Regions from separate parts of the Homo sapiens genome. Here all the other regions are linked to region 7. Evidence: promoter capture Hi-C in 16 types of primary human blood cells and fetal thymus (Javierre and others, 2016). All regions are on one chromosome and are shown on one strand. The core of a region is centred on a gene start or on the middle of the fragment in contact, and the rest is flanking DNA. Distances in the headings are between cores, read along the strand shown. Region 1 overlaps DPYSL2 (dihydropyrimidinase like 2). Region 2 overlaps TM2D2 (TM2 domain containing 2). Region 3 overlaps CCDC25 (coiled-coil domain containing 25). Region 4 holds the start of PPP2R2A (protein phosphatase 2 regulatory subunit Balpha). Region 5 holds the start of THAP1 (THAP domain containing 1). Region 6 overlaps PTK2B (protein tyrosine kinase 2 beta). Region 7 holds the start of TTI2 (TELO2 interacting protein 2).

Evidence for each region. The method cuts DNA at HindIII sites, captures the fragments that hold promoters and counts their contacts. A CHiCAGO score of 5 or more calls a contact.
Region 1: a fragment that was not itself captured here is called in contact with the fragment with the promoter of TTI2 in region 7 in 1 of 17 cell types (total CD4 T cells); the score reaches 10.5 in total CD4 T cells.
Region 2: a fragment that was not itself captured here is called in contact with the fragment with the promoter of TTI2 in region 7 in 1 of 17 cell types (M0 macrophages); the score reaches 7.0 in M0 macrophages.
Region 3: a fragment that was not itself captured here is called in contact with the fragment with the promoter of TTI2 in region 7 in 1 of 17 cell types (non-activated CD4 T cells); the score reaches 5.5 in non-activated CD4 T cells.
Region 4: the fragment with the promoter of PPP2R2A here is called in contact with the fragment with the promoter of TTI2 in region 7 in 1 of 17 cell types (total CD4 T cells); the score reaches 5.7 in total CD4 T cells.
Region 5: the fragment with the promoter of THAP1 here is called in contact with the fragment with the promoter of TTI2 in region 7 in 1 of 17 cell types (naive CD8 T cells); the score reaches 7.0 in naive CD8 T cells.
Region 6: a contact is called between a fragment that was not itself captured here and the fragment with the promoter of TTI2 in region 7, in 1 of 17 cell types (naive CD8 T cells). The highest score is 7.9, in naive CD8 T cells.

The regions. Positions count from the first base shown.
Region 1 is chr8:26,574,851-26,577,581 of GRCh38, reverse strand. All of the region lies in intron 1 of DPYSL2 (dihydropyrimidinase like 2), which reads right to left. Among named protein-coding and RNA genes, the nearest start is that of DPYSL2, 62 kb to the right of the region's middle. RefSeq lists silencers at 1-455, 496-695 and enhancers at 1-499, 500-1,197, 1,296-1,465. The HindIII fragment of the contact is 357 bases long and covers 1,257-1,613 here.
Region 2 is chr8:38,989,162-38,992,046 of GRCh38, reverse strand. TM2D2 (TM2 domain containing 2) reads left to right here. Exons shown (of 4, transcript NM_078473.3): 4 at 502-2,885. The coding sequence ends at 715. Among named protein-coding and RNA genes, the nearest start is that of TM2D2, 5.9 kb to the left of the region's middle. The HindIII fragment of the contact is 6,930 bases long and covers 1-2,885 here.
Region 3 is chr8:27,763,746-27,766,481 of GRCh38, reverse strand. CCDC25 (coiled-coil domain containing 25) reads left to right here. Exons shown (of 9, transcript NM_018246.3): 2 at 1,231-1,278. Among named protein-coding and RNA genes, the nearest start is that of CCDC25, 7.5 kb to the left of the region's middle. The HindIII fragment of the contact is 2,330 bases long and covers 102-2,431 here.
Region 4 is chr8:26,290,004-26,292,862 of GRCh38, reverse strand. PPP2R2A (protein phosphatase 2 regulatory subunit Balpha) reads right to left here and starts at 1,355. Exons shown (of 10, transcript NM_002717.4): 1 at 1,037-1,355. The coding sequence starts at 1,043. RefSeq lists a silencer at 1,204-1,553. The HindIII fragment of the contact is 3,300 bases long and covers 268-2,859 here.
Region 5 is chr8:42,841,659-42,844,586 of GRCh38, reverse strand. THAP1 (THAP domain containing 1) reads left to right here and starts at 1,262. Exons shown (of 3, transcript NM_018105.3): 1 at 1,262-1,563. The coding sequence starts at 1,493. LOC124901940 (a long non-coding RNA gene) reads right to left here and starts at 1,653. Exons shown (of 2, transcript XR_007060901.1): 1 at 1,204-1,653; 2 at 1-820. RefSeq lists enhancers at 1,184-1,543, 879-1,669 and a silencer at 1,574-1,663. The HindIII fragment of the contact is 1,565 bases long and covers 503-2,067 here.
Region 6 is chr8:27,360,124-27,362,823 of GRCh38, reverse strand. The region is part of intron 1 of PTK2B (protein tyrosine kinase 2 beta); the gene reads right to left. Among named protein-coding and RNA genes, the nearest start is that of PTK2B, 36 kb to the right of the region's middle. RefSeq lists enhancers at 167-697, 650-759, 1,080-1,239. The HindIII fragment of the contact is 3,430 bases long and covers 1-2,700 here.
Region 7 is chr8:33,511,808-33,514,607 of GRCh38, reverse strand. TTI2 (TELO2 interacting protein 2) reads left to right here and starts at 1,473. Exons shown (of 8, transcript NM_001102401.4): 1 at 1,473-1,526; 2 at 1,896-2,641. The coding sequence starts at 1,995. SNORD13 (small nucleolar RNA, C/D box 13) reads right to left here and starts at 1,133; the gene lies at 1,030-1,133. RefSeq lists a silencer at 822-871 and an enhancer at 1,302-1,441. The HindIII fragment of the contact is 19,476 bases long and covers 1-2,800 here.

The sequences.
Region 1 (2,731 bases), core at 186-2,685, 6.9 Mb after region 7:
TTCGGGGCCGCACGCACTCGCCTGCGCGCGCCCCGGTCCCTGCCCGCCTGCGCGCCAATCCGCGGAGGCCGCCGCGGCAGCCCCGCGTGGGGTGACTGCGCCGAGCCAATGGCTTCGCTGGCGGCGAGCGCGCGACTGCACCGCCGGCCGGCGCCGCGCAGCCCGGGAGGGCTCCCGGGCCCTCCTCCCCCGCCGTTGCTGGCGCTGAACTCGCCTGGCCCCCGCCCTGGCGCGGCTGAGGACTGGAACGGCGGCGGGCGGGAACCCGGCGGGGAGGGCCCGGCCACGCCCGGCCCCGGAGAGGGCGGCTGCTTCCCGGGAGCGTCCGGGCCCGGCTCCTGGGGGCGGGGAATGGGCGCGGGCCGGGGGGAGGCTGCAGAGACGGGATCTGGCCCGCGTGGAGGCGCCGGGCTGCAGGAAATGAGAGCCCTGAGGAAACCCTTCCAACTCCGAGCCGGGAAGGAGGCATCCGGGGAAGGCTGCGGGGTATGGGAAACCCCGCCCTGAAACATCCTTTTGTGCCTTCCGGCCGCGAGGAACTTAGTAGGGCGGAGGAATGGGGAGCAGCCGCAGCCCGCCGAGGCCGATGTGGCGCGATCTGCGCTCTGTGCGCCCGCTTTACAGTCACGCCCACCTCGGCTCCCTGAGGGGTGCGTGGGGGCGCAGCGCATTTCGCTGGTGCCTGCAGCGCTGTCGGGGGCAGCTGCTGCGATCCCAGCGCCCCGGGGTCCTGAGGGTTTACAGTGCCAGTGGATGGGACCCACACCGCACCGTGGGGCGGAGAGGAGGAGATGAGCTGTGGAGGAGCAAGAAAGGAAGAGTTTATATCCCACAGGAAAGGGAAACTGAGTCTTGGGGAAAACCTACTGAATCGGAGTTAAAATCAAGAGTGTCCTGACTGCCCAGGCAGAGCCTTGTCACTTCAAACGGCACTCAAGGCCCCTTCGTGGTCCTAGCAATTGAGCAGGCCTGGGACCCCTTAGCTTTGCCTGTCCAAGCCATGCTGGGATGCTCTAACTTCAGGGTCCGTGGGAAAGAAAAACGCTGATCCAGTTGATCCTCAGGAATCTACCGAGGCCAACCCCCGTGGGAGGTTGCCCTGGCAGGTACAATAACTAAAACATCTGGACCAGCCCTCGTAGCGCTCGGGCTTCTCTGCTTGAGGTCGAAGGATACATAGAATCCCTACGTAATCATGGGCTGGGGGGTGGGGGAAGAAAGAGTATGTAATTGGCTCACACCTGCTCAGCAAAGCTTAGCTAGATAAATACGGAATAATTCGAGCTGCTGTGGGCCTGACTTCCAATCTTTCTGCCCTTCACCACCTTAGCCACTTTAGGGGAATGTCTGTCCTTCCAGACTCAGAGAAGGTGTAAAATTCTCCTTTTCACTCCTATATCTCTAAAAATCTGAAGTCCCAGAAAGTAGCCGTAGGGCACGCACAAAGTTTCACCGATGGTTAATTCATCCAAGTTCAATTTAGCTGTGCATCTGAAAGAGAAAGTGAAGCACTTCCCCCTCCAGCAATCTGATATGCCGCAAGCAAGGTGAGATGATGTCGGCAAGTATTGCTGTCAACCGGTAATGGTTAAAGTCACGAGTCTGAGAAAGCTTAAAATACGCCTTTCTACTTGGCCTCTCTCTACTTGTGAAAAACCAACAGTCAGTCCCAGCTTTGCGGAGGACAGGGCAGTGGAGAGGAGTGTCCTATTAGCTCACAAAAAAACTACTTGGCAAGGGAGTAAATAAAGAGACTCAAATTAATTTAAAACAAAGTAACCTATAATTATATTGTTTGTATTCTTGTTGTATTCCCTACCCCCGTCCCTGTTGTTTGAGCGTAATGGGTTTAAATATATCTTGTTATTTACCAGTTTACCATAGAATCGTTTGTTTTGTAATAAAAGCTTCCAAGAGCTTGTGTCTGTCTCATTGGCTTCAATTGTATAGCCATTGCTATGAGGTTCTTAGTCCATAATAACTGACGTTTCCACTCGTAAATATCCAAAAATGTAAGGTATAAACTGATTTGTCTGTTCTGACTAGAGCCTAAGAGAGTATTTGGCACATAAAAGATACCAAACAAATGGTTTAAATTGACCGAGGAAGAGAACTGTCTGCAACCTGCATTTCTTACCATATTTACCATTCAGCGCAATGAGGAAAAGTAAAAAAGGGCCGAGGAGAATCTTCCACCTGCTTTGCACTGATGAAGGTGAAAAAAAAAACAAAAAACCACAGGTAAACAGGCCTCACACTTTTACTTCAGAGATCCTTGTAAAAATAAATGAGAGGCTGGGCACAGTGGCTCACACCTGTAATCCCGCACTTTGGGATGCCAAGGCAGGCAGATCAGTTGAGCCCAAGAGTTGGAGACCAGCCTCAGCAACATGGAGAAACCCCGTCTCTACAAAAAATACAAATATTAGAGACTAGGCTGGCCAACATGGTGAAACCCCGTCTGCACTAAAAATGCAAAAATCAGACGGGCATGGTGGCTGGGGCCGGTAATCCCAGCCATTCGGGAGGCTGAGGCAGGAGAATCACTTGAATCCGGGAGGCGGAGGTTGCAGTGAGCCAAGATAGCGCCACTGCACTTCAGCCTGGGCAACAAGAGCGAAACTCCATCTCAAAAAAACAAAAACAAACAAAATAAATTAGCTGAGTGTGGTGGTGGGCACCTGTGGTCCCAGCTACTGGGGGCAGGGGAAGGTTGGGGCTGAGGCAGAAA
Region 2 (2,885 bases), core at 238-2,737, 5.5 Mb before region 7:
GCAAACTAGTCTAGAGACATATCTTCTGTTTCTGGCCTGTACACCCCAGGAAATAATATTCCTCTGCCTTAGTCTTCTCAGGTCCAAGTGCCAGGCAACCAGGGACCACTCCTATAGCTTAGAGCCTGCTGAGGTTATTCAAACTAGCCAGTTCTAAACTATTCGCCCTGCCCTGTCTTGCCTTTCCTGCAGAAACCCCAATGAAGATAGTGGCCAAAAACCTTCCCCTCCCTTCTATCTTCCAACCACCCTGGTATCTTTGCCAGGTAGCCTTGTATAACATGATGTGCCTCCTGTCTCTGGGACCTATGAGTATAATAAACTTTGGTTTTTCCTGATCCTCTCACCTCACTGACCATATCATAAAAGAAAACAAAATGGAGGGTAAAAGGCCACAGAGGGTCCACTGCACTGTCTCATCACTTACGTTAAATTCACTAATCCTTAAGGGTTTAAATTTTCGTGCAGTAAAACATCTTCCTTTTCATTCCTTTCACCTAGGTATACCGGACACTACTTCATAACCACTTTACTCTACTCCTTCTTCCTGGGATGTTTTGGTGTGGATCGATTCTGTTTGGGACACACTGGCACTGCAGTAGGGAAGCTGTTGACGCTTGGAGGACTTGGGATTTGGTGGTTTGTTGACCTTATTTTGCTAATTACTGGAGGGCTGATGCCAAGTGATGGCAGCAACTGGTGCACTGTTTACTAAGAAGAGCTGCCATCATGGCCCAGGGAGGCGGGTGAAAGCTCCGTCTTCTGAATTCATCTCTACAGGCTCAAAACTCCTCTTTGATATCAGACCTGATGTTATTTTCCTTCTTTTGGAGGGCATTTGTTTGGTTAAGAAGGCTTCTTTGGACTTTGGAATTTCAACCCAGATTTTACCTTGCAGACGGAATGACAAGCAAAAAGTGTTGTGGGGAATCAAATTTGTTCCTTTCCTCATGCACAAAACATAAAGGATAGTGGCGAGTTTACAAGCTGTGGATGGGTTTCCATAGTCTTCCTTTCTGTACATTGCTATATCTTCAGTCCTTTGGAGCAAGTGGACCTAACAAGTTGAGCAAAATGAATATTTGGATCCATGTTCCTCTTGTGACCCTGAGTCTTCATGCAAGGAGATCTGAAGCTGAACAATGAAAATCTTCAGCAGAAATAGAAATGGCCGTGGATTGTAATACACACTGAAATTCTGACTTTCTGAATTTAAATGTAGAATAAATTTTACCAACTTGGAGTACTGTATGAGTATTTTCAGTAGGGGGAATAAACTCAAAATTATATTTGTTTTGCAGAAACCTAGTCATTTGAAATGAGCCATCCTATTAAGCCCTCTTTTGTCTCCATTATGTTCCAGAGGCAGTATATGCAGTGCAATAATTTTTTCATTCCACTTATGTTTTGAAAGCCAGCGGCATCAGATGTGTGAGTTGAGCTATTCCTCCTGGCAGAATTGTCCAATCTAAAAATCAGCGTTTACCAGCCCATGCTAATAAAATTAAGATTTCATACAAGTTTCTGTAAAACTATTCTTCATGATTAGCTCTCCCTGTGGGCTGCAGCAGTCAGAAAGAGATAACAGCCACACCTCTGCATTCCCCGGTCACCAGGAATAAAAGGAAATGTTCCAGATTGTAAGTGGTTTTAAAAACTCAGTTCTCATCGTTTGCAATCTAAGTTGAAAGAACTATTAAATATAAAATCAAAGGTGGGCAATGTGGCCAAGTCAATGGAAGAGGCTTTACTCAGAATAACTTACAAATTCTAGAAACAAGGTAGAACTCACTCAGTTTACCTAATAATAATTGAATTTAAGACCAAATATCACAGTTGAAATAACTTCCCTGGATACATTCTATCATTTTGTAGCTTTCCTAAGAATTTCTTGCTTTATCATTCCTGATTAATCACTGTTTTTACATTATTAAAGGTGGCAATTTTCTGTAAAAAATTTAAAACAGATGATCCTATTCTGTCTTGAAAGTTCTGTACCACACTGACCTTAACCTTGCTTATAACATAACAATTGGTAAACTTTTAATTCATAATCTTTATACCCTAAGATAGTATTTATTAAATTTTTATGGGTCATGAAGAAACTAGACCCTCTCCCCAGAAAAATCTACATACACAGAATTTACATAGAACTTGGGTTCATCTACACAATTTATGCATGAAATAAAATTGTACTGGTACCCTATAAATTTATACAAATAAAAGAGTTTAAGGGAGTTCAAGGATGCCATATGTATATTTTAAAAAAATTTCTAAGGGAAGTCTAAAAAACATAAATTATAATATTACCCAAAATAAGATGCTACTTTTCACCTAACCAAGTCCTGCCTCATTTCACACTTTAACCTCCTAAGTATATTCATAACCCTACCAAAAGTTGTTTTCTTTAAAAAATAAGAAACTTTAGGGCCAGCGCAATGGTGCAAGCCTGTAATCCCTGCACTTTGGGAGGCCGAGGCAGGTGAATCCTTTAAGGTCAGGAGTTCGAGACCAGCCTGGCCAACATGGTGAGACACACTCCCCCACCCCCGCCCAGTCTCTAGTAAAAATGCAAAAATTAGCCGGGCGTGGTGGCGTGCACCTGTAATCCCAGCTACTCGGGAGGCTGAGGTAAGAGAATCACTTGAACTGAGGAGGCAGAGATTGCAGTGAGCCGAGATCCTGCCACTGCACTTCAGCCTGGGCAACAGAGTGAGACTCTGACCAAAAAAGAAATTTTGCAGCTCCAAGGCTTGAAGTCATTTATGTTGCCAGGGGTAAGAGCTTGGTTGAAGGGCTAAAAGACTAGAAACTACTGAAGATGCCCTTCTTACTGTCAGTAAAGCTGCTGGAGACAAAAGAAGTTGTTCTCGCTGCTAGAGTGG
Region 3 (2,736 bases), core at 17-2,516, 5.7 Mb after region 7:
TTCTCAACTACTTCTGGACTTCAGTTATTATAAATGTTAAACAAAGGAATTAGTTTTCTCTCCCCCGAGAAAGGCAACTAGGATTGATCATTTAAGAAGCTTCTCATTACTGAAAGTACAGGGCATCTCTCTGATATAAGGCTTTTTAATTTAGGAGAGCGTATTGCCCTTTGTCCTTCAGGGCTCCAGGTACATGTGTGTGTTCTGTGCTGTGGAGTGATAGCCAGCAGGCTGTTCAGCCCAACCCTGCACTTATCAGTACTTTGCTTCAGTGTGTATTTATTTTTCAGTACTTCTCCATCACAGGCTTTGTAGCCTGAGGGCCCAGTGTCTATGAATTCAGGAGTTTAGTCCAATTGGATCAAACAAGTTTTGGTAAACTAGCTTTGAAACCTGGCACTCAGTTATCCTTTCAGTAGGAATCCAAGGTAGGGACGTCTGCAATAAAACACCACCTTGGTAAAGCAAATATCATTTCTAGGATAAACCATACCCAGAAGATTCCATTTGAGTTAGGATAGTTGTTTCTAACCCTGACCTTATATTAGAATCACTTGGAAGGCTTTTAGAAAACACAGATGCTCACTCTTGCCCACCAGAGATTTGGATTGAGTTGATCTGAGGTGGAGCTGGGGCATAATTAGATGATTCTAATGTAGATCAGGGGTCAGAGTCACTGGTTTAGAAGTTGGAGAGTCATGGTCTCCCTGAATGTGATAGAGAGCCTGTTAGAATATGCAGCACACCTGGAATATGGGTAATATTGGCTAAAAACAATTATGCACAATAAAACTTTGGTAAACATGGGAACTTAGTTGTGGTGTTTAGTTTTCTTTTCTTTTCTTTTTTTTTTAACTCTTAAAGAAGGCAAAAGTATAGGACTGGACTGGCGATACCATTGAACTGTAACCCTGAGAAAGTAGGAAAGTAGCTATTAGTAAGGATGGTAAACTTTCTCTTTTGGGGCCAGATAGTAAATATTTTAGGCTTTGTGAGTCACCTACAATCTCCGTGGCTTATTCTTCTTTGTTTTGCTTTTTTTCCAACCCTTTAAAAACGTAAAAACCATTCTTAGCTCAAGGGCTGTCCAAAAACAGGTGGTAGGCTGGATTTGGATCATGGGCCATGGTTTGCCAGCCCCTAGTCTAAGAATTGTCACTTGTTTTTCACATGAAACAATTTTGTTGGTGATGAAGTTACTAATTGTTTTTTATTTTTGTTTTATCTTAGTTAATTCATCTGCCTACACTATTTACATGGGAAAAGATAAATATGAAAGTAAGTTTTCAAAAGCATTTGATTTTGAAATTTTCAGCAGGTAAGTGTTATCTCTCACTCACCACCTTCCATGCCCCCCACCCAGTTTGTTGGTTCTGAGTTTTCACCTACTTTGATAAACTAGCTTTTGAGAAACAGAACAAGCTCACATAGGGAGACAGCAGCACCTCCTAAGCTACATAAGAAAAATGCTTTAACTATCAATGTTACTTGTGATGATTTATGGGTTAGTAGGAGAAATGTAAAACTCAAGTGTTAATATGCTGCAGACTGCTTCACCATTAAATCACACCCAAAGTTAATGTCACAACTTTATTATCATGAAAAAGTACTAAGGTCTATTTTTTAAAAAGTATAGACAAAATGAAGTAACATGAATAGTAAATGCTGTCGAAGTAGACAGATCAGAGATAGTAAATGTGATTGAAAGCTGAGAAGGCTTTGTGGAGGAGTGGGTTAGGATGGACTAGATTGTGGAATCCTTTGAATGTCTATTGTAGGAATATATAGATACAAATCTAGATACATAATTTATGTCACAGATATAAATTTAGATGATATTTTTAGAGCCCTCTGGAGTGGCATTTTGCTGTCATTAAAAACCTTTGTAGAAAAAAACGTAAGAGGCCAGGCATGGTGGTTCACGCCTGTAATCCCAACACTTTGACAGGCTGAGGCGAGAGGATCACTTGAGCCCAGGAGTTCGAGACCTGCCTGAGCAACATAGGGAGACCCTGTCTCTACAAAAAACAACAATAAAAGAAAATATTAGCTGGGCATAGTGACACACACCTGTTGTCCTTGCTACTCTGGAGGCTGAGGCAGGAAGATCGCTTGAGCCTGGGAGGTAGGCTGCAGTGAGCTGTGATCATGCCACTGCATTCCAGCTTAAGAGACAGCGAGAATCTGTTGTCTGAAGTAAGTGAATGTATGTATGTATGGAACACTTTTTCCCTGGGAACTCTTAGAGTCATTTGGAGGTATCAACTTTTCCTAGGTTGCCTTGTAAGAACGGACATTACTTCTCTAAATCACCCCATTGTCTGGCATTCCTAGCCCATTACATTTATTTCTAATAGTGTTTATGACTTCAGACCAAGAACTCGATAGAAACATCAATTTAAGTGGAATGATTTACTTTCACTGAAAAGCTTTCAGGTCTGTTCTTTTTATCAGCCAGCAGGTGTCATCAGGGAGCCAAACTTTGCCTGACTGAGGGAAAGAGATTTTTTAAATTTCTCTTTCCTTTTTTTGCTTACCTTTTGGCTATTTGCTCAGTCCTACTTAAAGCATTAGAAAGCCTTTCAGAAAACTCATAGTGTCTACGACTGTTATGAGTGCCTTTACCCAAGATGTGTCTTCCTTTTGCTTTTCCTTTTCTGGATGGTAAATACCCCATTCAAATTATATAGACCATACTTTCTTGGGTACATTTTAAATCATCACATATGAATCATT
Region 4 (2,859 bases), core at 106-2,605, 7.2 Mb after region 7:
TCTCATCTCGGAATGTTTCTATTTCACGTGCAAGTACTGAGGTCGAAATGATTGAAAATGTCCTGGGGCTCTAGGGAGAAAGAAACTGAATCTAAATCTGCAACTGATTCTACTACATGAAGGAAAAGATTTAGCAATACCAACATGTACAAAAAGAATTCTCAAAGCAATTACATTACTTCTCTCTCCCCCATCACCCCTATTCCTTGCTAAATTTATTTCCAAACTGGTTTTCTCTCTACATCCTTTCCCCTCCCCTTCAAAGCTTCTACCTAAATCTCTCTCCTCCTTGCTATTTATATCTCTGAACTCCGCAACTATTTTAACTAACTCTACCAAACCCTTTTGGGAAAAGGACATCTGCAAAAAAGCTAACATGCTAAACGCAAAGTTTAAATTATTTTCATGCAACTTGCTGTACATGAAAGGCCTTGCACTCTTCGGCGGTAAAAGGGAAGAAACGGAAACGAAATGGTTCGAAACAAAAAATTTAGGCTTCCAGTCTCAAAAATATTGGCATCTACAGTGGGGAAAAAATACACATATGCCCCCACTGTATTTTAACTTATAAGGCGCTCTTCCTTCTCGAGGCAAAATAAATGTGTATATACACCCAAGAAGGCTTGCAGCAGGGGGAAAAATAGAAATTAAATGAAGACCTGCAGGAAAAAAAAATAAAGGCGGGGGGCAAGGTGGGGAGGTGGGAGAAGATCCACCAGGCTCCCGAGCGGGAGGGACAAATCTGCACGCACCCCCACCCCGCCCCACCCACGCCTCACCCCAAGCTCGCCGGCACACCCCACCCCCACCCCCGCCACGGCGCCAGCCCCGTTCTCCAAGCCCAGTGACTCTCACCGTGACCACTTGCCTCCCGGGAGCCCTCCCCGCCCCCACCCCACCCCTCTGGACCCTACTCCCTCAAACCCGAGGGGCGCCCTGTGGCTCTGCGCGAGGCGCGGGCGGTCGCTAGGGGGTGATGGAGGGAGGAATAAGGAAGCGGTGCCTTGTCAGGGGGCGAGGGGGATTTCTCCTTTACCTGCCATGTTGCGCTGCAAATGGTGACCCTGCTGGGTTCCTCGGGGTCTCCGCTTCCTGAACTCACCCCCCTCACCTGGGGATGGGGGGGTAGAGAGGGCGGATGGCGGCGGATGGCACCTGCGGGGGGAGGGGACGGGGGCCGGGGGGAAAAGGAAGGAGGGGCGGGCAGACCAGCCGGCAGGATGCTAGATTTCACTCTGGGGCTTCCCCGCTCGTGCTCTTTCTCCGGCAGCGGCGGCGGCGACTACGACAGCGACGGCGGCGGCGGCAGCGGCAGGGGCAGGCGACTCCACTTTCAAAATGGCGCCGGCTGGCCTGGCCAGTGACGTCACCTAGGGGGCGGAGCCGCCGGGCTGGGGCGGAGAGCGGAGGGGGAGGGGCGGGGGAGCGGCCGGGCGGCTCTTGGCCACGCCCCCTTCCTGCTGCGCCTGTGCCCCGCCCTCCGTGTCCCGGCCGGCAGGGCCTGCGCCGCGCCAGCGTCTCGCCATGGCATACCCTCTGTCCGCACCGCCTGCGCCAGGCCGCGGCTGTGTGCACCTAGCAGTGTCCCAGCCTCGAGCACTAGCGCCGGGGCTCTGGGGCGGGCTTAGGAGTCCAGTTTACGTGCTCTCCTGCAAGGATTCATGGGGTCCTATGTCTTCTAGGAATACCTGGGCCGGGCACGGTGGCTCATGCCTGTAATCCCAGCACTTTGGGAGGCTGAGGCGGGCGGATCACAAGGTCAGGAGTTCGAGACCAGCCTGGCCAACATGGTGAAACCCCGTCTCTACTTAAAAATATACAAAAATTAGCCAGGCGTGGTGGTGTGCGCCTGTAATCCTAGCTACTTGGGAGGCTGAGGTGTGAGAATTGCTTGAACCCGGGAGGCAGAGGTTGCAGTGAGCCGAGATCGCACCACTGCACTCCAGCCTGGGTGACAGAGCAAGACTCCGTCTCAAAAACAAAAAACAAACAAACAAAAAACCCCGTACTGCTTCTTAGGAAATTGTCACTTTGGATTAGCCCTGAGACCACAAAGAAAGGGACAGCGGTGCAGACTTACTGCTCAGCCGGGGTGAAAGTTCACGGGGTTCAGAGGGACACGATTGGGCTGGTTCTATCTGGGTGAATTAAATTACCTTCTCGTGGGCCCCAGGATCCAAGGCGGGAGTCCTAGGCACTGCGGACACTAAGAGTGATTTCTAAGAGAAACCTGAGTTTGTGATGAGAGGGTATGGCCCAAGAAGTGACCCGGCGTCTCTCCAGCTAAACGTGTTGGACTGCGTGCTTAAGAGCTGGGCTCAGGGCCGGGCGCGGTGGCTCACGCCTGTAGTCCCAGCACTTTGGGAAGCCGAGGTGGGAGGATCGCTTGAGGCCAGGAGTTCCGAGTTCGGCCTGGAGAACATAGGGAGACCCATCTCTCCAAAAAAAATTTTTTTTTTTAAATTAGCCAGGTATGATGGCGTGCCTATAGTCCCAGCTACTAGAAGGCTGCAGTAGGAGGACTGCTTGAGCCCAGTAGGTCAAGGCTGCAGTGAGCTATGTGATCACATCACTGCACTCCAGCCTGGGAGACAGAATGCGATCCTGTCAAAACAAAAACAAAAACACAAAAAGTGCTGGGCTCTGAAGCCAGGCTGCCTAATATGATTCCAAGGCTCAGGAGATGAAGATGACAGTCCTACCTGATAGGATTGTTGGGGAGATGAAATGACTTAATTTGAGCACATGATAAATGTTAGCTGCCGTTATTATTAGATTTGTATTGAAAGCATCGTCAGTAAGGTTAAGAGGTAGAAGGAAAAAAATGAACAGGAAATGCCAGTCATCAGCTATGAGGGG
Region 5 (2,928 bases), core at 13-2,512, 9.3 Mb before region 7:
TAGCTGAAATTCGAGGGCATGTGCCACCACACCCGGTTAATTTTTGTATTTTTAGTAGAGACGTTTTCACCATGTTGACCAGGCTAGTCTTGAACTCCTGACCTCAAGTGATCCGCCCGCCTCGGCCTTCCAAAGTGCTGGGATTACAGGCGTGAGGCACTGTGCCCAGCCCAATATTATTATCTTTAAAGCAAAATTAGGAATGCTTCTGTTCTCAAAATATCGGGATATCTGGACACTTGGTAGTCTGGGTCTGTGTAGTAAACATTATCAATCTGTTGCCTTAATGGTATACACATCTAGAGGCTAGGAATACCTAACTTCCCGGGAATGCAGCCCAGCAAGTCCCAGCCTCATTTTCCTAGCCCTCACTCAACACAGAGTCGCTCTAGTTCGAACCCCTCTAACATATTCTCTCTCAGGTGTGAAAATTGCTGCAGCAGTTCGCTATTTGCAACACAGCACATGGAAATCACAGCAATGGAGAGCCTTCAGAAAAGCTTCTGGGGAGGGACAGCCTGGTGGCTCAACTCCTGTAATCCCAACCCATGGGGAGGTCGAGATGGGAGGATCCCTTGAGCTCGAGTTCCAGACTGACCTGGGCAACGTGGGGAGACAACGCCTCTATTTATTTAAAAAATTACATATATATATATATATATACATACACACACACATATATACATACACACATATATACATACATATACATACATATATATAAAACGCTTCTGCGTTGGCAATTGAGATGATTTGGCGAGTGTGTCTTTTTTCATTGCTAAAAATCTGTCACGTTGGCTCTCACAGAAACTTGTGATACCTGAAGACACAGGTAATGGGATAAAGATTAGCACTCTGGGAAAAGGTTCCACAATTTTATTAATCATACACCATCTGTGTCCGCCCTTTTAAAGAAATGGGCGCAATCAGCCAACGACCTCGGCTTTACACCTGTTCTCCAAGAGGCCCTAGTTGTTCCCTACTGTAAGCTGCCCCAGAAAAGGTCCGCATCAATTAACCCACGGGAACAGCCCGGGGCTGGAGGATGCCCCAGGAATCCGGCCTCCCGCCGCGCCTCCTCCCCCCACAAGCAGTTCCTTCCTGCCTGCCGGAAGCTCAGGGCTCCGCCCACTTCGGCAACTCTGAAGCCACCGCCGGAAACACCTGGCCTCAGCCAATAGTTAGCTTCCCAGGAAACGTTACCTCTGACCTCGGGGCTAATCAGAGACAGTGGGACGCACCCCTCGCGAGAGGTGAGGTTGAAGCTGCCTCCGCCATCTTGGAGATGGGAGACGGGCGATGGCTGTGGTCCTTCTGCTAATGCAAACAACAAAACGGGCACACTAGTCACCCCCGAGGGAGGCCACCATCACTGTAACTGTTGGCCAAAGCTACAAAAGAAGCGAGGGAATCCAACCGAGCGCAGCGACACTGAGAACAGCTTCCCCTGCCTTCTGCGGCGGCAGAAGTGAAGTGCCTGAGGACCGGAAGGATGGTGCAGTCCTGCTCCGCCTACGGCTGCAAGAACCGCTACGACAAGGACAAGCCCGTTTCTTTCCACAAGTGAGGACCCTGCGCGCCTCGCGGGGCCGGTCTCAGCCGGGGTGGGGGCGCGCGGCCGGCGGGGCCGGGGGCGGAGCCAGGCGCGTGTCCGCGCGAGGGGCGGGTGGGGTCTGGGGCCGGCCGTGTCGGGCGTTTCCCACCGCGTCCCGCTGGGAACCGCCGCCCGATCGCGCGTTCTCGGCGCGCGTCGCCGCGGCAGCCGTTTCTCGCGCTCCTGGAACAGGCCCTGGTTGCAGGCTTCGCTCACGGCCTGGGTTGACGCGTTCGGAGCCCACGGGCGATGCCTAGGGTGGCGCGGGTTTTGCCACCACCAGGGTCACAGAGCAGCCAGGTGTTTTAATATGGTCTTAGGGGTAAATTTAAAATAGAAACAAAGGCCTTTAAACGAAGAAATCACTACTTTTCGCCCTTGCCGTGGATGGGAGGCCAGCATCGTAGCAATTAAGGGTTTTTTGGCTGGGAAATCAGGGAGAATTTTTGCCCCCAATCTCTAGGAACTAAGCTTTAAGGACCCTGTATTTTGGAGAAAGCTTCAGGTACTGCCGAGATAAATCGTTATCTTTTCAGCACACAATAATGATAATATGGACAGTTACAACATGGATCATAATAAAATGACTCACACGGATCTTTATTTATTATGGCATTACCTGTGCATAGAGAAAGCTCTTTCGAAAGAAACTGCCCCACAGCTTTCAGAGCTGTCTTATCCAGTAGGTAGCACAGTTAAGTGATAGGATCAAAAATATTCTCTTGAAAATAGGAAAAAAGTGCAGAGTTGTAATTACTTATGATAAACGCTTGTAAAATGTGACATAACATTTTCATTCAGCTGAATTTGTTTACAAATTTTAATTACATTTATGTTAAGTTTTCTTTGCAAGAATTCCTGACAGCTATACGCAGATGATAGGTAAGAAATCAGATCCAGGGGTAAACTATACAGATTAGCCATAGGTAATTAGCTAATTATCTTTTATAATTAGGTAAATAATTACAAAAGCAAAATGTTAAATATCTTTTCAGTTAATTTATTTTTTTGCTGTGGGGCCATCTGTGTTTACTAGGGGAGTGTCCATGCATTTTTTAAATATGTTTGATATCATGTGAGATGGACCCTATAGAAATAAGAGTGTGTAGAACATAGAGAGGTCTCCAGAGTAATAATGTTACCCCTTGGAGAAGGGGATAGAACACTTAGAGGATTCAGTTCAGGATATCCTAATATTATCTCTTGATTTAATTGGAATTTCTGTAAACATGTTCTTTCTAAATGTAGGGAAAGGTCAGGTGATGGTAACAGGATTACATGCCCAGCTCCCCACCCACATTTCTGATGGCTTGGCAGAAGGAATCTAAAATTAT
Region 6 (2,700 bases), core at 73-2,572, 6.2 Mb after region 7:
GATTTCGTGTGGGAGAAGTTCTAGATTTCACGTGGGAACAGTTCTAGATTTTGCATGGTAACGGCTCTTTGCCTGCATCTGTCTCTCAGAGACAGGCTCCCGAGGCTGGGTCCCTCCTGTCACTGCTGGAAGGGGAGGCTGCTACAAAGGGGGTTTGGCAAGGCCAGAGGGCCCCAAGGAAGTCTTGGTGGGGGGAAAGAAAACACTGCTGGGGTCAGGGTGAAGGTGGGGGTGGGGTGTTGCTTTGCTAAAGGCCCACAGGTGTTGGGAAGGAGGATGAGTAGTGTCAGAGGAGCAGAGAACCCTGCTCCCCACAGTCATCTCTCAGCAAAAACAGAACACCTCCCCTAGGTGAGAAATTCATCCCAACAGTAAATCCCTAGGTCAACGACTTTAGAAACCCTTAGCCCTTCTCCATTGGGCTAGAAGAGCCACAGTGTGGGGGTGCTAACACTGAAACTCTGGGTCTCACCAGCATAAGGAAATGACACATACCTGCCATGCCGATAGGGCCTGCCTGTGAGTCACGCCCAGGAAGTGGAGAGGGGAGGACAGGTCAGCCTAGGGGAGAGAGAAGGGGAGGCCCCGGAAAGTGCAGGCTCCTGGTGCTGCCCTGAGGCTCTAACTTTTCAACTCAAGCCCTGCCTCCAGGATGATGAACTGGGTCAGCAAAATGACAGGAGGCTCAGGGCCAGACCTGGATTAGAGCAGGCCTGCCCAGACAGGTCAGCGATTTGTGTCCATAAAAGGAAGATCCAAGGGAAACAGGGCCTGCCCTTGTCACCCACAGACCCAGTCAGGTTGGTTAGTAAACATCAGACAGGGCACGATCGGTGCATCACCTTTGAACACATAGAGTGTGCTTGTCTGGCACACGGGGCAGGGCTGACTGAAATGATGACTAGGAGGATGAGAAAAATTCCTGAGGGAGGCTGTCTGCATCATCGGGGTTATCAGTGAAGAGCAGTGTGTGGGTGTGGAGCGGAGCAGGGGGGCGGATAGACTTCACAGCCTAGTCCATCCACATACAGAGGACCCCAGGACTGTACTTCATTGAGAGCACCAGAAAAGCAGGCAGTGGGCCTCAGCCACAACCACCACCCCTGGGGAGACCACCTGGGATACCAGAAAGAGAAGGGCCCTCCAGCTCCCTTAGTATGACCTAATTTTACAGAGAAGGTGCCTGGAGCCCATAAGCCCCCTATCCAAGGTCCCTCCCTGAAGTCAGAGGGAGAGCTGGGGCCATTTTCCCACCCTGCCCAGTCCAGGGCTCGCTCTTTCCTTTAAAGAGCCAAATCCAGGCCGGCTGCGGTGGCTCATGCCTGTAATCCCAGCACTTTGGGAGGCTAAAGTGGGAGCATCGCTTGAGGCCAGGAGTTCAAGAACAGCTGGAGCAACAAAGTGAGACCCCCATCTGTACAAAAAGTAAAATAAAAAATTAGCCAGGCATGGTGGTGCATGCCTGTGGTCCCAGCTACTCGGGAGGCTAAGATGGGAGGATCACCTGAGCCCAGGAGTTCGAGGCTGTAGTGAGCTATGATTGCACCACTGCACTCCAGCCTGGGCAACAGAGCAAGACCCTATATCAAATAAACAAACAAAAAGGAAACAAAAAAGAAATAAAAAGCTAAATCTGGAGCTAAATAATTTGTACATATGGACATAGAGTGTGGAATAATAGACATTGGAGACTCAGGAGGGTGGGAAGGGGGTGAGGGATAGGAAATTATTTAATGGGTACAATAAACAGTATTCGGGTGATGGTTGCACTACAAGCCCAGACTTTACTACTATGCAATGTATCCCATGTAACAAAATCACTCTCACTTGTACCCCTTAACTTCATATCAACAAAAAGCACAAATCCTATGTTTCTTTCTTTCCTGGGACCCAGACATCACCCCACTGACCATTTCGAAAGACCGACACGTTTTATTTCGAGAATAATTGGGGGCCCTTCCTGGTTGTCATCTGGAAGGAGAAGAAATCCCCACATCTAGACCCAGAGGGCGAGAGAAATGCAGTTTTGGCTTTTTCTCCCCATCTTGCTAGTGAAAAGATCCCAGGTGAAATGTTTGCACAGAAGTCTTTCACATCCTTTTTTGAAAGTTCACAGAATATACGTGTCATTTGGTAGTTCACAGTGTATTGGGGCATCGTACCCCAGGAAATCCTGCCCTCTCACCCACCCCCACCCCTTTATGATTGCATCGCCATGGGGTTCTGCCACCGGTTCAGGAGCCAGCTAGCTCACAAGTCACATTGGCTTCCATGGTGGAGGAACGGGGCTGGAAGGAGGGAGGGACCTGGAAGGAGGAAGGGCACCAGAAACACTGAATGCTCTTGGGCTGTCCTCTGGCCTCTGTGACAGCTCCCTGTCTCTATCCCTCCCTGACCCCTGCCCAGGCCAGGCCTCCTCTGAGCATCAGCCGTCTCCCATCAGCATCAGCATGACTTTCCTTCTCTGCGGCGCTTGCCGGCATCGCGCATGGATTCCTTGGGCTGTCTGATTCCAGCCCATCTCCCATTCTGGGTGTTAAGTTCTGGGAGCTCAGGGAGGACTGTGTCTCTTTATGCGTCACCCTAGACCTAGATTCTAGTTGACTCAGTGACATTTGTTGACTGAATAAATGAAAGTGAGCTTTTGCCAATGTGAGAACATGGGGATGTATGATTTTTCAGTCCTGTAATAGACAGACC
Region 7 (2,800 bases), core at 224-2,723:
ACCCAACACAGGGCGGTCGCACAGGCGCGACCCTTCTCGCGCCTTCTCAAAACCCAAGCAAACACCACTGGTTCCTACACCCGCCGAGCCCGAGTCTGCAGCCTCCAGCTCCCCTGGCCCGTTCCGGGCGCCGCCTGCGACCCATGCCCAAGACAGCGCTCTGCTGTCCCTGCGCACCCGGCGCCGACACTGGCGGGGCGGGCCCAAGCCGGATCCGCCAACCCGACGACCCACCTCCCTCAGGGCTGCCCCAGACGCCAGCTGGGGGCTTCTACCTTGACGCTAGAATTTGAATTTTCAAACGCTTGTGGCTACAGGCTTTAAAACGCTAGCTCCAGAAACCAGCTAAAGTATTGCATTGAACAGAAAACCAAATACCGCATGCTCTCATTCATAAGTGGGAGCTAAACATTAGGAACACGTGGACATAAAAGTGGCAACAACAGACACTGTGGTCTACTAGAGGGGGCAATGAAAACGGGCTAAGCTGCACTCCAAATCCCAGCATCCCACAACATATCCAGGTAACAAACCTGCGCAGGTATCTCCCAAACCTAAAAAATTAAAGCCATTAAAAAGCTCTGCATTGGCCAGGCGCGGTGGCTCACGCCTGTAATCCCAGCCCTTTGGGAGGCCGAGGCGGGCGCATCACGAGGTCAAGAGATCGAGACCATCCTTGCCAATATTTATACAAAAATTAGCTGGGCGTGGTGGCGCGCGCCTATAGTCCCAGCTACTCGGGAGGCTGAGGTAGGACAATCTCTCGAAAACCGGAGGTGGGGGTTGCAGTGAGCCGAGATCGCAACACTGCAACTCCAGCCTGGCGACAACGCGAGACTCCGACTCACAAAAGAACAAACACAAAAACACATTACACAGTTGGACAACGGAAAAGCACCCGTGCGTGTAGCATACAGCCAGAAAAAAGGGCACCCGAAAACGGTAAACACAAAGCCATGAAACTAGGCCACCTGTTATCATAAGTAACAAGCCCACAAATACAAGTGTTAAATCGATCCTTGAAGTTCAGGTCAGACGGGTAATGTGCCCACGTCGTAACAAGGTTCAAGGGTGGCACATCTCACACAAGCGTATGAACACCCAATCATCACGCTCATGAACTACAAAAGGATCATCTTATAGTTGACATTAAGGAGTGCCAAGTATGTGCCACTAATTTACACATAGGGTGACTACCGTAATGCGATACATCCATTCTTCACGTATAAAATCCTGGATATTTTCAAAGTCCCACTGAGATTCTGTGATTATTCTTTTGTTTCTACCTTAGCAAAGGAAAACAGAAACACAATTAGCGAGCGGATTATTATATATGCAAATTTATTCTCTATAGTTCCACCTCTCCGTCATTTTCCCGAGCCTGGATCTTTATTGCTTTACGACCATACGTCGTGAAATAAGAAGGTGTTGCGGCAGTACTGGCGGAAGCTAGCCTTGCGTTTTGCGGCAGCAATATGAGCTAGGTCCGGATCCTGTTAGACACCGGCGGGCGCGAGCCGTTGCAGGTACCTGGGGGTGGTTAAGTTGGTGACATGGCTCAGAAGTTTATTTCTTTAAATTTTTAAGTTTTTTTTCTTTTTAGTCTTCAGAAAGGCAACAGTAGTCTTTTAACGTCACTGTTAAAAGTGTAAGACTCTTTTACTCCCTGAGAGTCCCCTTTCCCTTTCTTGCGTCCTTTCCTCTTTATTCTTTTTTTTTTTTTTTTTTTTACTGAGACGGAGTCTCACTCTGTCGCCCAGGCTGGAGTGCAGTGGCGCGATCTCGGCTCACTGCAAACTCCGCCTCCCGGGTTCACCCTTTCTCTTTATTCTTATCCCGGTCAGACTCGCCCCCTCCTCCAAGACATCTCTCTGTTTTATTTTATTTGATTTTAGTTCTCTTTGGGTGATCGCTCCTTCCCTCTTCAACGGATCCCTCCCCGCCTCCATCCTCGTTCTGTGGGAGAGACCAGCCTTCTGGTGCTGCAGTCAGGAATGGAGCTTGACAGCGCTCTGGAAGCCCCATCGCAGGAAGACTCTAATTTGTCCGAGGAGTTGTCTCACTCCGCCTTTGGACAGGCCTTCTCCAAGATTTTACACTGTCTTGCCCGCCCGGAGGCACGACGAGGCAATGTAAAAGATGCAGTTCTTAAAGACCTCGGTGATCTAATAGAAGCCACAGAATTTGATAGGTTATTTGAGGGGACTGGTGCACGGCTCCGCGGAATGCCGGAGACACTGGGGCAGGTAGCAAAAGCCCTGGAGAAGTATGCAGCCCCCTCCAAGGAGGAGGAAGGTGGAGGTGATGGGCACTCCGAAGCGGCCGAGAAAGCAGCCCAAGTTGGGTTACTGTTTCTTAAACTGTTAGGGAAAGTTGAGACTGCTAAGAATTCCCTGGTCGGCCCTGCATGGCAGACGGGCCTGCATCACTTGGCAGGACCCGTTTATATTTTTGCCATCACACACAGCTTGGAGCAACCATGGACCACTCCGAGATCTCGGGAAGTTGCTAGGGAGGTGCTCACCTCACTGCTTCAAGTTACTGAATGCGGTTCTGTGGCAGGATTCCTACATGGAGAAAATGAAGATGAGAAAGGGAGACTTTCGGTGATACTAGGGCTTCTCAAACCCGACTTGTATAAGTGAGTACTCCTGCCCTTTGCCACCGACTTGAGCCTCACAGTTTTTTATTTTTATTTTTTATTATTTATTTATTTTCGAGACAGAGTTTCACTCTTGTTGCCCAGGGTGGAGTGCAATGTTGCGATCTCAGCTCACTGCAACCTCCGCCTCCTGGGTTC